Regions from separate parts of the Homo sapiens genome. Here all the other regions are linked to region 2. Evidence: promoter capture Hi-C in 16 types of primary human blood cells and fetal thymus (Javierre and others, 2016). All regions are on one chromosome and are shown on one strand. Each heading gives the region's core, a stretch centred on a gene start or on the middle of the fragment in contact. The rest is flanking DNA. Distances are from core to core; before and after follow the strand shown. Region 1 overlaps CERS6 (ceramide synthase 6). Region 2 holds the start of CERS6 (ceramide synthase 6). Region 3 overlaps CERS6 (ceramide synthase 6).

What was found. The method cuts DNA at HindIII sites, captures the fragments that hold promoters and counts their contacts. A CHiCAGO score of 5 or more calls a contact.
Region 1: a contact is called between a fragment that was not itself captured here and the fragment with the promoter of CERS6 in region 2, in 1 of 17 cell types (non-activated CD4 T cells). The highest score is 5.1, in non-activated CD4 T cells.
Region 3: a fragment that was not itself captured here is called in contact with the fragment with the promoter of CERS6 in region 2 in 12 of 17 cell types (fetal thymus, non-activated CD4 T cells, activated CD4 T cells and 9 more); the score reaches 11.4 in fetal thymus.

What each region holds. Positions count from the first base shown.
Region 1 is chr2:168,520,355-168,523,555 of GRCh38, forward strand. The region is part of intron 1 of CERS6 (ceramide synthase 6); the gene reads left to right. Among named protein-coding and RNA genes, the nearest start is that of MIR4774, 61 kb to the right of the region's middle. The HindIII fragment of the contact is 1,803 bases long and covers 1,039-2,841 here.
Region 2 is chr2:168,454,701-168,458,017 of GRCh38, forward strand. CERS6 (ceramide synthase 6) reads left to right here and starts at 1,572. Exons shown (of 10, transcript NM_203463.3): 1 at 1,572-1,918. The coding sequence starts at 1,749. LOC102724081 (a long non-coding RNA gene) reads right to left here. Exons shown (of 4, transcript XR_002959433.2): 1 at 2,331-3,317. RefSeq lists silencers at 1,164-1,383, 1,414-1,503, 1,624-1,753, 2,204-2,263. The HindIII fragment of the contact is 1,842 bases long and covers 1,176-3,017 here.
Region 3 is chr2:168,575,149-168,578,469 of GRCh38, forward strand. The region is part of intron 3 of CERS6 (ceramide synthase 6); the gene reads left to right. Among named protein-coding and RNA genes, the nearest start is that of MIR4774, 6.1 kb to the right of the region's middle. The HindIII fragment of the contact is 3,602 bases long and covers 1-3,321 here.

The sequences.
Region 1 (3,201 bases), core at 690-3,189, 66 kb after region 2:
AATAGTTTCTCCCATTCTATAGGTTGTCTGTTTACTCTATTGATAGTTTCTTTTGCTGTGCAGAAGCTCTTTAGTTTAATTAGATCCCACTTGTCAATTTTTATTTTTGTTGCGTTTGCTTTTGAAGACTTAGTCATAAATTATTTGCCTGGACCAATGTCTTAGAAGACTTTTTCCTAGGTTTTCTTCTAGGATCTTTATAGTTTAAATTCTTACATTTAACTCTTTAACATTTACAATATCCTTTTTTTTTTTTTTTTTTTTTTTTTTTTTGAGAAGCAGTTTCACTCTGTTGCCTAGGCTGGAGTGCAGTGGTGCACCCTTAGCTCACCGCAACCTCCGCCTCCTGGGTTCAAGCGATTCTTGTGCCTCAGCCTCCTTAGTAGCTGGGATTATAGGCACGCACCAACACACCCAGCTTATTTTTGTATTATTAATAGAGAAGGGGTTTCACCATGTTGGCCAGGCTGGTCTCGAACTCCTGACCTCAAGTGATCTGCCGCCTCAGCCTCCCAAAGTGCTGGGATTACAGACGTGAGCCACCACGCTCAATTGGTATACTTTGAATTAAATACTGTAAATAAATTTTGGAAAGACTTCTATACTCTTCTCCTCCCTGCAACATTAATATTATTTGTTTGCTTTTGTTTATGAAAGCATGAAAATGCTGTATTCTATTTCTTATAGACATATACGTTTCTGTTTTTGATAGATTACTAAGTCAAGTTTGGTAGAATTGGTTTAATGATTCTACCTTCAGAGAATAAATCTGAGCTGATAGAATTTGAGACTGACAACGCCGTACAGTGATAATACTGGAAAGTAACAGAAGAGATCCCAGATGGTTTCCAAAGCTGGGGTCAGGACCAGCCTAATAAAGCCTGATAGAGTTATGTTCTGTAAGTGAAACGTTACAGTTTAATGCTCAGTGTGGGACAGTGGGGAAACCAGAGCCCTTTTTTTGTTCCTATTGATTTGACTTTTCAAATTTGACTGCATTTTTCTCTTCTCTAACAGAGAGATAACGCCTACCCTGTAAGCTTGATAGATTTGTCATGAGTTGATAGATTTGTCATGAAGATTCCATGAGATAAAGGGTGTGTCCCTGGCTTTGAAAAACTGGCCAAGTTCCAGGTGGAAGAAGAGGAGGAGGGGAGGGAGGGGGCAGAGCAGGAGATGGTGATAGTAACACAGCTGCGCCAGGCATTTCAGTGAGTTCCTAATGCAGCTTCTAGGGTGCATTTGAAATGAGGCACTTCCAGACAGACGTCTTGGGTTCTTCTCACTGAGTCAGAGGTGAAAGATGAGAAGTTGTCATGTTAAACTAATAAGTGACATTAGCAAGGCCAGAAGTTGAAAATAATTCTGCCAGTAGCTTGGGAGCTTCCCCTGCAAAGATTTCCAAGGTCTGCGAGCCAAGAGAGAGCCTTCATTTCTGACAGGAACAGTGGAAAGATCTAAATTAGAAATGGAATAGCCTTTAGAAACCTTCAGGCCCTAAGGGGCTTCACTGAGCATAATTGTCTTTGAATGGAAATATAAGTTTATAATTTGTTAGAAGCAGTTTTTCAAAAGTAAAATAGAGGCATGTAGAGGTTTTTATTGCCTTTCCACCTCCATCATTGAAAGCCTATTTTTGTAGATGTATTATCTTTAAGGTTCGTGTGCCTGGGTAGTGATTGATTTGAGAACACAGTGGGAAAATTTATTGCGCAAATGATATATTTTTGTGACTTTGTTTGGTTTTGATTCCTGGAAAATTTTACCGACTATATAGGTCTGGATATAGTTTTATAGCATTGGTCTTGAATACTCAAAATGAGTCACAAACCTATGGAAATTATAATTTACACAGATTTGGGGATCTGTGTAGTAGGCACAGGTGGTAGAGAACTGGGTGGATGCAGGTAGAGAACTGAAGAACTGCAGGTTTTTATGTGGTTTCTGATATAGCCCAGTTACTTCATTTAGGATAAACTATTGGCTATTTTGTAATTTATAAACTACCTTTTAAAGCAGGGCTCACTTAATGCTGAACATTAAAAATTTTTTTCTCTTTGTTACTGCAAGTGTAATTTCTTCTGAACAATTTTCCCTGTTATTTAAAAAATAATTTAGTTAGTAAGCTAAAAGTGTTAGCATTCATTGAAGTTAGGAATTGGCTCTTCCCTGTAACTTAGGTGAATTTTTTTTTTTTAGACAGGGTCTCGCTCTGTTGCTCAGGCTAGAGTGCAGTGGTACAATCATGGCTCACTGCAGCCTTGACCTCCCAGGCTCAAGTGATCCTCCAGTTTCATTCCCCTCCCACTGAGTAGCTGGGACTACTGGCATGTACCACTGCAACTGGCTAATTTTTAAATAATTTTTACTTTTTTGTAGAGACAGGGTCTCACTTTGTTGCCCAGGCTGGGCTCGGATTCCTGGGCTCAAGTGATCCTCAGGCCTTGGCCTCCCAAAGTGCTGAGATTACAGGTGTGAACCACTGTGCCTGGCCCCTGAAATTTTGAATAAAGGGAGAGAAAATGGTGGCAATGAGATAACAAGAACTTTTGTGTGTTTTCTAACTACTCAAGTAGATGAAACTCAATTAGATAGTTATATCTGAATAAATAGTCAAACATTTATTATGTGCCAGCAATGATACTATTGATAGCTGTATTAGTAATGCTTTTGGCTGAAAGTAACAGTACCTGATTGATACTGACTAGGTGAAAACTGATGATCTTGTATAACAGAAGCATGTAGGTCAGTTGTTCTGGTTTTGCTGCACTAGCTTTACAAAGCCATAGAGACGTAGAGCCTTTCTGCCTCTCTGCTCTACCATTTTGGGTTTTGTCCTTAAGCTTGTCACCTCTTGATCCCATTATCCCTGCTTCAAACGACATTATCTTTTACCGCAAGGAAGGAAGCAGAAGTTAAAGGCTGAGTGGAAAAATGAACAGTTGTTCTCTTATCAGGGAAGAAGATTTTTTTCAGTCCTTTCTAGTACCCCCAGTAAACTTCTCTACACCTGCTAGGGAAACAGAGAAAACAGATATTTAGAGAGTAAGAATCTGATTTTCATGATTGTCTGAGATGAATCATAATTCAGAATTACCCTTCCTAAATAAAAGGGGTGTTTTGTTTGTATGAATGAAAGAGAGGTGGTCGTTGGGTGGAAGAGCCACACTGTGTACGACAGTGGCACGTGCAGCACTTTTA
Region 2 (3,317 bases), core at 322-2,821:
GCCCTTATAAGAAGATAGGGCACTAATCTGTGTTTCCTCTTTCTGTGCTCTCTGCCATGTGAGGATACACAAGAAAACAGCTGTTTTCAAACCAGGAAGAGGATCCTTGCCAGACACTGGATCTGCCTGCATGTTGATCTTGGACTTCCCTGCCTCCAGAACCGTGAGGAATAAATTCTGCTGTTTAAGCCACCTAGTCTAAGCAGCCTGGACTAAGATAAGAACTGACCTTTGTGTTTAGCAGCATGAAGATCACAGGTGACCTTGGGCAGTTTCAATGCAGCAGAGGAGACAAATGTCCAAATGGAAGTTCAAAAGAAAATGAGGGGAGAGAAATTGGAAGCACCAGTATAGGCCATTCTTCAGTTTCACTTTCAAGAGATAGAGTGGAAAGAGGGGAGGGAAGAGTAAAAGAAACTCCCTCTCTCTGTGTGTGTGTGTGTGTGTGTGTGTGCGGTTATATGCCCACTGGAAAGGTTTAGTATAGCCTACTGGCAGCACCAGGCAGAAAATGAATGTGAGAAAAATGAACAAAAATGCCCCAGAACCATGTATACATGGGCCATGGAATGAATTCACACATGGCTCCTGTATCAATGGGGAAATGCATTGCGGGAGGGAAGGTGCCTGGGTTAGGCCTCACAGGCCTAATGCCTTAAAGGTTTTAGATTCAAAAGGCAGAAATAATGAGCCTGCCGAGTAGCACAGTGGAGGTTCTCATGATGTGCCAGGTCAAAATGTGGTCTAGCAGCCTTTTCAGAGAGGTTAGTTGAGAGGGGTGGTTTTACAGAACGCTGCAGTTGCTATCATCATCATCATCATCATCATCATCGTCATCAAGTAGCAATTAATAATCAAATAGCAATTAAGTGCCTAATTTTTTGTACCACCTCATAAATCAATATAGGGGGGCTTGTTCCCTGGGGGAGCTACTTTGATGAGAAGCAGCAGTATAAAAGACCGGAAAGTCAAAGATTGGGGAAAGGCAGGCGTGGGGCAGAGGCAGAAGGCTCTTGCCAAACCATCCTGCCTCAGTTCCTGATTTTTCACCCTGCCTCTCCAAGCGCGGGAGTGGAGGATCCTTTCCCTCCCACTTCCTCCTTTGCTCTTTACCCCTCCCCCTCCCCCCCCCTTTTTTTTTTTTTGCTGTCCTCCTGGAGCAGGGCTGGTTCTGAAGCTTGGCGGCAGCCCCTACCTGCTGACCCACCGCCTCCGGGCGCACGGGAAGAGGACTGAGAGCCCTGAAACCCCAGCGGGGCAGGAGCCAGCATTCTGAGCATGTGCGAGCCAGCCAGGGGGCTAGGGCGGATTTGGGGGGTCGACTTTAGGTCGTCGCCCTAAGCGCAAAGCGAAAGAGCGGTGAGAGCAGGGGCGGGCGACACTCCCCGGAGCGGTGCCCCTGCGCCCAGGGCGCAGCGACTGCGCCCTGCCCTGCGGGTGTGGGCGAGTTGGCCGCGTGTGTGCCTCGCTGTTTGACGCGAAGACGAGCCAATCAGGGCGGGCGGCCCGAGCTGCCATGTGACGGGCAAGGCGGCCCCTTTCCCCAGCGCGGCCAGAGGGAGGAGAGAACCGGGGCTCGCCGCGAGCCTTCGAGAGCAGCGGCCGCGGAGGAGGCGGCGGCGGCGGGCGGGAGCAGCGGCGGCGGCGGCACAGGCTCGGGGCCAGCCGGGCGCGCATCCCCGGGCGCCCTGCGCGGTGGAGAGCTTGGCGGGCTGCGGGTGCCGCAGGACAGGAGTGGACAAAGCAAGATGGCAGGGATCTTAGCCTGGTTCTGGAACGAGAGGTTTTGGCTCCCGCACAATGTCACCTGGGCGGACCTGAAGAACACGGAGGAGGCCACCTTCCCGCAGGCTGAGGACCTCTATCTCGCTTTTCCCCTGGCCTTCTGTATCTTCATGGTGCGGCTCATCTTCGAGAGGTAAGAAGGGCTGAAGCCCCTCCTCCCCTCCCCCTGCGCACACACACGCGCGCACACACTCGCGCGCTCTCTGGCGCACGCCCCCGCGCCCCCAACGCTCGCGTTCACGCCTCCCAACCTTTGTGTTCGGGGAGGGGTTGCTGACCCCCCTGCCCCGCTGGCTTTCTGGGAGCCAGAAAGGGTCTGGCTTGCCACGGATTTCCTCCCGGGCGCCGGGGAGGAGCCGCGGAGCGTTAGGGTCGCCCCCTGCCCTCCTCCTGGGCCCTGCTCTCCTCCCGGCAAGGGCAGGCGAACAAAGGTGAGCGGTGGTCGGGCTCAGGACCCGCCGCATTCCGCGGGGCTCGCCCCTCTCCGCCGGCGCGCCACGCAAGGCTGCCAGGCAGGGCTTCCCGCCGGGGCCCGCGCCACCCACCTGACAGCCAGGAACGTTCCGGACGCGCGGCCCGGAGGGAGGAGGAACCGCGCACACTTCAATCTTTATGCTCCGGCACACGGATTGTAGGGGTTGTGCTTCAAAAGAATTCGCCAGGGACTTCCTGGCTTCTGGTCGCTGTTTGGTTTTTATCCGTGAAACTATCAGGCCCACAGTCCTGGCAAATAGGGGATAATAGCATTTCAGGTTATTAGCGGTTTCTTTAAAAGAGGATGTGACAGGACGGGTCCACATCCTGCAAAATGGTGATATTAAACTGATAACCCTGTCCTGTGAATAATCATAAACTTCTTTTTTGGTACTCGAAGGCACTTAAAATTTTGAGGAATTGTCATGCAATTGTATAGTTCCTCGGTTTGGTTGGATATCTCCATTGTGTCACATACAAACTTGTGTTATTCTCATGGAATTCGTTTTCGTCGCGAAACTAGATTGTGCCTGCCATGCATTCTCTGGGTGCTACTGAAAGAAAACCAGGACAGCAGCACACTTTTTTTTTCGTAACAGAAAATATTATCTTCCCCTTTCTTGTACCCTCCCCTTCCTCTGCCCAATTCATCAGTAAAGGCTGAATTTCTTAGATCACAAAGTAGAGTTTAGATTGCATTTCTCGCTTCCACTCCGCCTTTCTTCCCCGCCTTCAACTCACCTTGGTTTTGTTTCTTAAGCTTTTGCTGGTACCTCATTTGCTGTTCCTCTTTGCCTGAAAACGACTGTTGAGGGTGGCAGAACGCGTCTTTTGAGTCATTTGCTGCTGGACGAGGCAACAAAGCTTCATGGGGACAAAAAGTATCTTTTGTCTCAGGAAGGTATATTTTTCACCGGACAGTATTGTTGCTTGAAAACGAAGTCAGCTGTTCGCCTGCAGAAATTGACATGCACAAAGCAACAGACTTTAAGACCTATGTTTAAATTATTGGAATCTAATACAGATGTGTCATTGATCCTATACAAAAAAGGATCAAA
Region 3 (3,321 bases), core at 342-2,841, 120 kb after region 2:
GAAACTTAACCTGAGTCAAAATAGTACCTTGAATTTAAAATGGGGCCATTAGAATTGTTCAAAACACATAGAGCACTGGTGCCTTATGTATTAGTCCGTTTTCACACTGCTATAAAGATATTACTGGAGACTAGGTAATTTATAAAGAAAGGAGGTTTAATTGACTCACAGTTTCTCTTGGCTTGGGAGGCCTTAGGAAACTTACAATCATGGCAGAAGGCAAGGGAAAGCAAGGCAGGCACGTCTTACATGGTGGAAGGGGAGAGTGAGAGTGAGGAAGTGCCACTTCCTCACTCTCTTTAAAACTATCAGCTTTCGTGAGAACTCACTCACTATCAGCAAACTGCCCCCATGAACCAATTGGCTCCCACCAGATCCCTCCCTTAACATGTGGGGATTATATTCTGAGATGAGATTTGGGTGGGGACACAGAGCCAAACCATATCACCTTGTAAGCACATAATAAATGTTAGCTATTATACTAGTGATAGCACTATAGTAGCACTGTGATTGCCTCTGAAGCAAAGAAGGGCCTTCTCTGTGTGGACTCCCTTCTTGAACAAGTTTTTATTCTTTTCCTAAGAATTTTATGAGAATTTATAACAATCCATTTCTCTCTGGCTTGTGCTGTCAGGTGGGGCTGCCATGCTTCTTCTCACCCCTTGGCCTTTGCTCAAGTTCTGCCCACCTGCCCCAACCTGGGATGCCCTTCCCCTACTGTGACAAATACCTGCCTCTCCATTAAGACTCAGTTCACCTTCATTTAGGAAACCGTGGATATTTACTGGGTGACGACTCTATGCCAGGAATGGTACTTAGTGTCTAATGAAGTTGCCTTAGAGAGGAGCACAGAGCGTTTATTTGTGGTAACAGGAAGGGAGTCCAGGCAGGGACATAGGGAGGTAGAGTTAGGTAAGTCTCTCCTGGTTGTCTCCATCATCCCAGTGAAATAGGAGACAGGGACATCAGAGGAGAGCAAATCATAAGCTGTGTGGCCTCCCCTGCTCCATGAAGGACGCCTCCTACCCCCATTCTCTTTTTCCCAAGCAGAGTTGATGGTCCCCTCATTTGTGTGCCCCTTTAATAGTAATGGCAACAGCCCAATGCTCTTGCTTAACATTTCTTTTTTATCTGCAGACTGTAAATTCCTTCATGACAAAGAGCCAGTCTTATCCTTTTTTGAGAACCCAGCACCTAGGACTGATTTGCAATGTGTTTGTTTCATTTACTGCCCAAATACATTTTGAGTGCCTACTTTATGCCCAGCGGTCTTGTAAGTGCTTGGGATATGGTTTACATTTCACTGGGGAAGGACACAGTAGACAAATTCTCCCCATTATCTTCCCTTCAATTTCTTTTATATTTCTATTTCTTTCCAGATACAGTCCAATCAAGATTTGTACATTAAAGTTCTCTTAATTTTTTTGTTTTGAAACAATTTTTTTATTTTGAAAACTTATAGAGAAGTTTGAAGAATAGTATAAAGAAATCCTGTATAAACCCACCCAGATTCACCACTGTTAACATGATGCCATACTTGCTCTGATGTTTTTTCTGTTCCTTCTGTACAAGTGTGCACACACACCTATACACACATACATACATACATACACATATGTTTTTCATGAACTGTTTGAGTGGAGGCCTCAGATTACACTTTATTTTGAAGATAAATAGAATCTTCTGGGAGATTGGTTGTGTGGTATGAGAGAAAGTGAGAATTCAAGAATGACGCTTGGGTTTTAGCCTAGGCAGTTAGACAGAAGGAGTTGCCCTTGAGTGGGTTGAGGAAGCGTGAGGGAGGAGCAAACCTGGGGAGAAGTCCAGGATTTTGATTTTGGTCATGTGAATCTGGAGGTATCTATTAGATATCTATGCAGAGGAGTGCTGTAGGCAGCTGGATAGGTGAATGCACAGTTCAGGGAGGAGGTGTGGACTTGGCAGTTGTTGGTGAATAGATAGTGTGTAAAGCCTCGAGACGGTGCGAGATCTCAAAGAGAGTGAGGGTAAGTAGAGGAAACATCTGAGGATGGAGGCTTGAGACAGCCTCGTATGAGAGGTTATGGAATTGAGGAGGAGCTGATAAAGGAGGCTGTGAAGGAGATAGGTGAGTGAGGAGGCCAAGAGAAGAAGACATTCATCGTTGGCTGTGTCACTACTCACAGTCCATGTAGCAACATGCAAGTCATTCGGTGTCTGCCAAGAGCAGTTTGGGTGGAAGGTCTTAAGACAAAATGGAGGAGAGAAGTTGCAATGTGGGAACTCTCGAGAGGTTTGTTATAAAAGAGAGGTCCAGAAAAAGAGAATAGTCATTAGAGGAGGAATTTGGGGTTAAGGATTTTTTTTTAACAAGGGAAAAATGATGGCTTGTTTGTATACTGATGGGAATGATCCAGCAAAGAGGGAAAAATGGATGATGCCTGAGAGGAGAGAAATGGCAAGAGCCGAGCCTTGCCCAGGCAGGAGGCGCTGGGGTGTGGAGCACAGTCAGGAGTTGCCTTAGAGAGGAGCACGGAGCATTCATTTGTGGTAACAGGAGGGAAGTCCAGACAGGGGCATAGGGAGGCAGAGTCAGGTAAGTCTTTCCTGGTTGTCTCCATCATCCCAGTGAAATAGGAAATGGGCATCTGAGGAGAGTGAAGAGGGAGGAGGAAGTATTAGCATTTTGAGGAGTGGGGAGAAAGTGTGAAACAATTTTCTGGAGGTGTATTGATTAATTTCTTTGTTTGGCCTATCTGCATGTGGGTGGCAGATAGTGAGGGCGAGGGACACAAGTACATTGTCGTTTCTGGGGAATAAGAGGTGTAGGTGCCAGTAGGGTGCGGTCACTCACAAGTCACTATGTCCCAGTCCAAAAGCCCAGGAGTGGGGTGGAAACTTCACAGTGTGATGAATCACTATAGGAATGGGAAACTAGGTTGAAAGCAGCGTTGGGAGGTTTGGAGCCCTCGCTCAGATATTTGGTGCAGATTAGCTGCAGGCATTTGTCAGACCAGGCTGTGGAACTGATATCAACCAGTAAACTTTTTTTTTTTTTTTAATCATTTCCACATTGTTTACAGGAAGAGAGAGGGCAAGTCTCTTATGTCCCTCAGTCAGTCTGTAGCTTTTGAAGATACTGAGGATGTAAAACCAACCTATGGAGCCTACTTTGCATATGACCACCTTGAAGGAAAACGTTACCATGTTCATAAAGTACTTTTGTGTCTTTTAGTTCATTATCCAGTAAGCTGCTGAGGTAGTAAATTTTTGTTAAATTGGATGATGTTCCATTCTAAACTCCCTTCTCTCCTAAGAAATTCTGTGCCACATACTGAAGAT